2 separate regions of the Homo sapiens genome follow, and region 2 is linked to region 1. The links are contacts of gene promoters, found by promoter capture Hi-C in blood cells and fetal thymus (Javierre and others, 2016). All regions are on one chromosome and are shown on one strand. Each heading gives the region's core, a stretch centred on a gene start or on the middle of the fragment in contact. The rest is flanking DNA. Distances are from core to core; before and after follow the strand shown.

The links. Contacts are between HindIII fragments. The CHiCAGO score rates a contact against its expected background, and 5 or more counts as called.
Region 2: a contact is called between a fragment that was not itself captured here and the fragment with the promoter of NDUFA6 in region 1, in 1 of 17 cell types (activated CD4 T cells). The highest score is 5.3, in activated CD4 T cells.

What each region holds. Positions count from the first base shown.
Region 1 is chr22:42,089,344-42,092,043 of GRCh38, forward strand. NDUFA6 (NADH:ubiquinone oxidoreductase subunit A6) reads right to left here and starts at 1,429. Exons shown (of 3, transcript NM_002490.6): 1 at 1,263-1,429. The coding sequence starts at 1,401. NDUFA6-DT (NDUFA6 divergent transcript) reads left to right here and starts at 1,590. Exons shown (of 5, transcript NR_034118.2): 1 at 1,590-1,838; 2 at 1,954-2,257. The HindIII fragment of the contact is 8,372 bases long and covers 1-2,591 here.
Region 2 is chr22:42,355,207-42,357,919 of GRCh38, forward strand. No RefSeq gene overlaps it. Among named protein-coding and RNA genes, the nearest start is that of LINC01315, 13 kb to the right of the region's middle. RefSeq lists an enhancer at 1,519-1,598. The HindIII fragment of the contact is 868 bases long and covers 938-1,805 here.

The DNA of each region.
Region 1 (2,700 bases), core at 179-2,678:
ACACACACACACTGCTACAGTCACTCCCCACACACATCTTTTATCTGCCTGCCCCTGAAGGCATCTGAATTTGCAGTCCCTGAACCAGCAGATCACTCAAGTTTCTCCTTCTCTAGTATCGCGTGGGTTTAAGTTCTGGTCAGTAGCAATTTTTCCAAAAGTCAGCTTGAAGACAGGGACTCTGTGGAGCAGACACAGTTCTCATATGTCAAAGAACCGGGTTCTGCTTGGAAGCTGCTGCTAAGGAAAGCCCTATAAATAACAAAAATAACAACAAAAACAACGGCAGCAGCTAATATTTAATGAGTTAAATATGCATCAAGTCCTGTTCTAAGCACTCTAGATATTTTAACTTAATACAGTAACCTTCTGAAGAAGGAATTATTATTCCCATTTTAAAGATGAAGAAACTGAGGAATAGATGAAATAACTGGCCCAAGGTCACACAGCTAGTTGAGGGCAGCGCCTGAAGAAAAGTCCGTGCTCCTAACCACCACATTCTACCGCCTTTTCACACACACAAGCAGGGACTCGACAGCCCTGAGGAGTGGCACCGTGCTCCAGCTCACTCAAAAACACCTCTTTCTCGCACTTTGGGAGGCCGAGACGGGCGGATCACGAGGTCAGGAGATCGAGACCATTCTGGCTAACACGGTGAAATCCCGTCTCTACTAAAAATACAAAAAAAAATGGCCGGCGTGGTGGCGGGCGCCTGTAATCCCAGCTATTCGGGAGGCTGAGGCTGAGGCAGGAGAATGACGTGAATCCGGGAGGCGGAGCTTGCAGTGAGCCGAGATCGCACCACTGCACTCCAGCCTGAGCGACACAGCGAGACTCTGTCACAAACAAAAAAATCCAACGGGCATCTATAATTACACTCTGCAACTCTAGACTTTGGGTTCTGGGTACAACAGTGGCTCGGCCTGGGCCCTGGGCACATCACTTCACCTCTCGGTGCCTCCGCTGCCTCACCCACAAAGTGAGTGTGTCACTGACAGTCATCGTCCTCCCGCCAATTGCGAAGGACAAAAGAGACCAAAGCTCCGATAGCACGTACGAATGCTAGGCACGGCCGGTCTGACCACCGCGCCGCCGCCAGGTCCGGCCCATGGTAGGCTCGGGTGACCCTCTTCCCCTGAAGCACCCGCAGTCGCCTCTGCCCAAGTTGGTGACCTCAGCTGGGCCCATGAGAAACCCCGGCCGGGCCGGCTACGACCTTGAGCGGCGGCCTCCGGGTCCCCACGTAAGCCGCTACCTCTCACCAGTGTTCGGCACCTCCCGATACCAGGCGCGGTAGAGCTCGCGCACCCTCCGCTTGGCCTCGTTCATGTCCCGACTGAAAATGGGCTTCACGAAGGTGCTGGCGGTAGAAGTAGCTTGGCGGACGCCGCTCCCCGCCATCTTGCCAAAGCATCCACTCCACAACCCCACCCCTTTGCAAGCAGCGCGTGCGGACCGCGGGCGAATGTCTTTTCCCATTGGCTAAGGAGGAACGCCCCGCCTGTATGCTGGGTGGGCGGGAGGATGACTCTGAGGCTCTCGGATTGGCTGGGAAGCCTCTCTCTGGCTGAGCGAACGGTGGGTGCTGCGCATGCTCATCTACAGAAACGCCGCTTGGCCTTTGGACTACACCATCTGTCGCTCGCTCTAACGAGCCGGCGTTGCCGCCAGGGGACGCTCGGGCCGCAGGAGGTCGCTGGGTCGTGAGCTGGCGCCGGGGACGCCGAGCGACTGCGGGGTTTCCCTCAGCGTCCTGCTATCCGGCTGCCCGCCGCGCTCCTTGGTAGTGTCCGTGGGCGCGCAGGCCTTGAAGAACCTCCTCGTGGCGGGACCCCGAGGTAACTGCTGAGGCAGATAATGGCGCCTGGGCTGCGGTGGGGCTTGTCCTGCCGCCTGGCGGCTTTCTGCAGGGCCAGGATATACTTACTTTTCTGTAAACCAACTCTTCCTTAGCGCAGGAGAGGTGTCAAAGAGCTGGCGCGTCTCCAGAGCCCCGGGAGGAAGGCTGTAACGGCAGCCCCATCGTAGACAGGGACATTCGCATCCCGAGCCCTGGATCTCTGAAAACCAGCCCAGAATTTGGAAGCTGGAAGGAACTTTAGATCGTCCATTCTGAGTGTCTCTCTTCGCTGGCGTTTTCCCACTGAGGTTATGTAAACATGAAGAGGAGCCTACAAGTGTCAAGGAAAAAACGACAGCTAACCACAGGGCAGGCCATGGGCAAGATATCTCAGTGTTCTCCGCTCTCATAGGTCAGGTAGGTACCTCAGCATCCCCATTTTACAGGTGAGGAAACTGAGATGGCCCAGAGTCTAGGTCACCTGACAGATCGCCCCCACCTGCCTGACTGCTGCCTAAGAGGCTCCGTCTTTTTCTGAAGGTGTAGTTGACAGGAGCCTGTGAGTATTGGGGAAGGGCCAGGGGCCGGGGCTGAGCATCTACTCCAAACTTTCCCATTTCGAAGGGTTAAAAAACCAGATATACTTTTTTTCTTCCTTATTATCTTCTAAAATGTATATATATATTCAAGTGAGCTATACAAAAGAAAGCACGTAACATATATAAATTATAAAGCATAATAATAAAATGGAAGCTTTTGAACCTCAGTACTGACTTAAGAAGTTGTAACACAGTTAAGGTTTGTATAAAGTGTCCTTAGATGTCCTTAGTAGCCACTGTTCTCTAGTTCTCTAGGTACAT
Region 2 (2,713 bases), core at 122-2,621, 270 kb after region 1:
CCAGACAGGCACAGCCATGGGAAGCACCGAAAGTTGAGTTGAGTTCAACAGAAGATGATCCAGGGCTGGCCCATCTCCACTGGGTTCAGAACCATTACACAGCACCTTCTCCAGCAGGCCCGGGTGCACCCCAGTGCCTGGACTCCTCTGGCCGCCACTCCTAGCGTCAGAGGAGTCCAGGCACCGGACCACCACTTTGCCTTTCTTCCCCCCTTTACTTCTCCATACTCATTTCCTACTTGAGCCTCAGGTCCAGCCTGGCCAGGTAGACAGAGTGGGCACAACAGGGTCATGGGGGCCATTGCACAAATGAGGAAAGGAGCTGAGAAGTCACATGGGTTGCCCAAGTCGTCCCCTACTCTCCCCACCCCATGCCCCTGCCTGATGAAGTTGGATCGGGCGTGCTGGCTGGCCAGGACACTGTGTGGGCATGGGGAGTCCTCAAGCCCCATCCCACCCCCTGGAGGCTGACAGCTGGGAGACTGAGGCCAAAGGCAGCCCCACTGCAGCACTGCACAGGGACTTCATGCGGGGCCCTGGATGTGGAGGACCTGGAGGCCTAGAGACCTGGAGGAACTTGTCAGCCGCAGAGGTTGTGAGTGTGTGTGTGTGTAGGTGTTGTAGGTGTGTGCATGTGTGCATGTGTGTGCGCACCTGCATGTACATGTATGTATTATAGGGCACAGGACTCATGAAGTGACAGATCACCATGGGGTCCCCAAATCCACACCCCTCACCCCAGCAACTCCAAGGGGTAGCCTGGAGATAGGAAGGGCACCCAGGAGGGAGAGAAGGGGGTTTCTGGACCATTCAACAAGGGGCATCACAGAACAGGATCTTAACCAGTGTATGGAACAGCAAAGTCAGCCTGATCCAGGTGCAAAACCCAACTGCTCAAGTACTCACTGCAGTTTAGGCAGGCGGCCTAGTCTTGCTAAGCTTCAATTATATTATCTGCAAAATGGACCTAATAATTCCCATGTTACAGGGTGGTCAGAATAAAACAAGATGCAGGTTGAGCGCAGGGCCTCACTCCTGTAATCCCAGCACTTTGGGAGGCCAAGGCGTGCAGATCATCTGAGGTCAGGAGTTCGAGACCAGCCTGGCCAACATGGTGAAACCCCGTTTCTACTAAAAATACAAAAATTAGCCAGGTATGGTGGCACGTGGCTGTAGTCCCAGCTACTCGGGAGGCTGAGGCAGGAGAATCGCTTGAACTTGGGAGGCAGAGGTTGCAGTGAGCCGAAATTGCGCCACTGCACTCCAGCCTGGGCGACAGAGCGAGACTCCGACTCAAAAAACAAAACAAAACAAAACAAGATGCAGTGCACACTCAATAAATGATCACTGTTTAGTTTGTTGCTAGAATGGGCTGTCCTTTCATTCTAGAATCACTCAGTGCTCCCTGAGCCCTGATCCAGCCTTACTATGAGCTGGGAACCAGACAGGAGGCCTTGCCCTCAAGGGACTCGCACATTATAGTTATAATAACGACATGCATGAATGTGTGTGTCCCAGCTGCCTGCCTTTCCGAGGCCGTGTGGTTTGCCGCTTTATAAGCACAAAGTCATTGAATCCCCGAGAGAATACTACGCATTGGGGGCTGCTACCATCATCTTGCTGATGAAGAAACAGAGAGGTGAAGGAACTTGTTCAGGGTCATCCAGTGGACAAGGTCCAGAGCCAGGATCTGAAACAAAGATCTCACTCCCACACTCATGCAGGACAGAAACCTGCACAACCCAGGTCATTAACTGCTCAAATCAAGGTAGCACTTGGGGCTGTGGGAGCACTGAGGAAGGAGAAGCTTAAGGGGAGTTCAGGAAGGGACTCACAGGGGACGTTAGTGAGCAGGGACTTAGAGGCATGAAGGCTTGGACAGGAGAAGAGGAAGGGTGGGCCAGGCAGGGATGACAGCCTGGACAGAGGCCCAGAGCAGGGGACAGGAAGCTCAACCCACGTCCGCCCCCCTGCCTGGATCCTAGCTCCGCTCATCGCCGCTGTGGTTCTCGAAGGCCCTCTTATCCTCTGGCCTTTGCCTATGCTGTTCCCTGTTTGCATGCTGTTCCCCTTTTTATCCTGTGCTCTAGGCTCAGTAGTGGGTGACAGAGCAGGATTTGAAAACAGGCCTATGGGACTCCCAGACATGTGCCTTTCCCCATGCAGTGCCCTGCCTCACAGAGAGAGAGAGCGACTCACACCTGGCGAGACCGAGGGTTGAGTCTGCCAGGAAGAGCATGGTGAGCAGGGGGAACAGAATGTGGCAACATGTGAGGGCAGACTCAGGACTGTGCCTGGGTCTGTCTTCCTGCCCAGCCTGGGGTCCACCTCTCACACTCCAGGGCTCCAAAGCCAGTGCTCCTTCCCCTGGCCTGCCTGGGGGATGGCAAGATTTAGATAGAGAATGACTTACTGACTTCAGAGTCCCACAGCCCTGGGTTAGAGCCCCTGGCCCTCATATCACTCTGGCCAAGTTGCTTCCACTCCCTGAACCTTGGCTTTCTCTCCTGTGAATGAGACTGTACCTGAAGAATGATTAAGGAAAGTCCCTGGCACAGAGTAGGTGCCTGGCAAATACCAACGGACAGGAGCCTCGGGACAGATCCCGTTCTGTCCTGGCATGGTGCCGTTTCCTAGCTAGGGAGCCAGCAGGCTCTGCAGGGCAGGGAGGCTCTGCGCTTAGCTAGGTGGTGTTGCAATGAGAGCAGCAAGG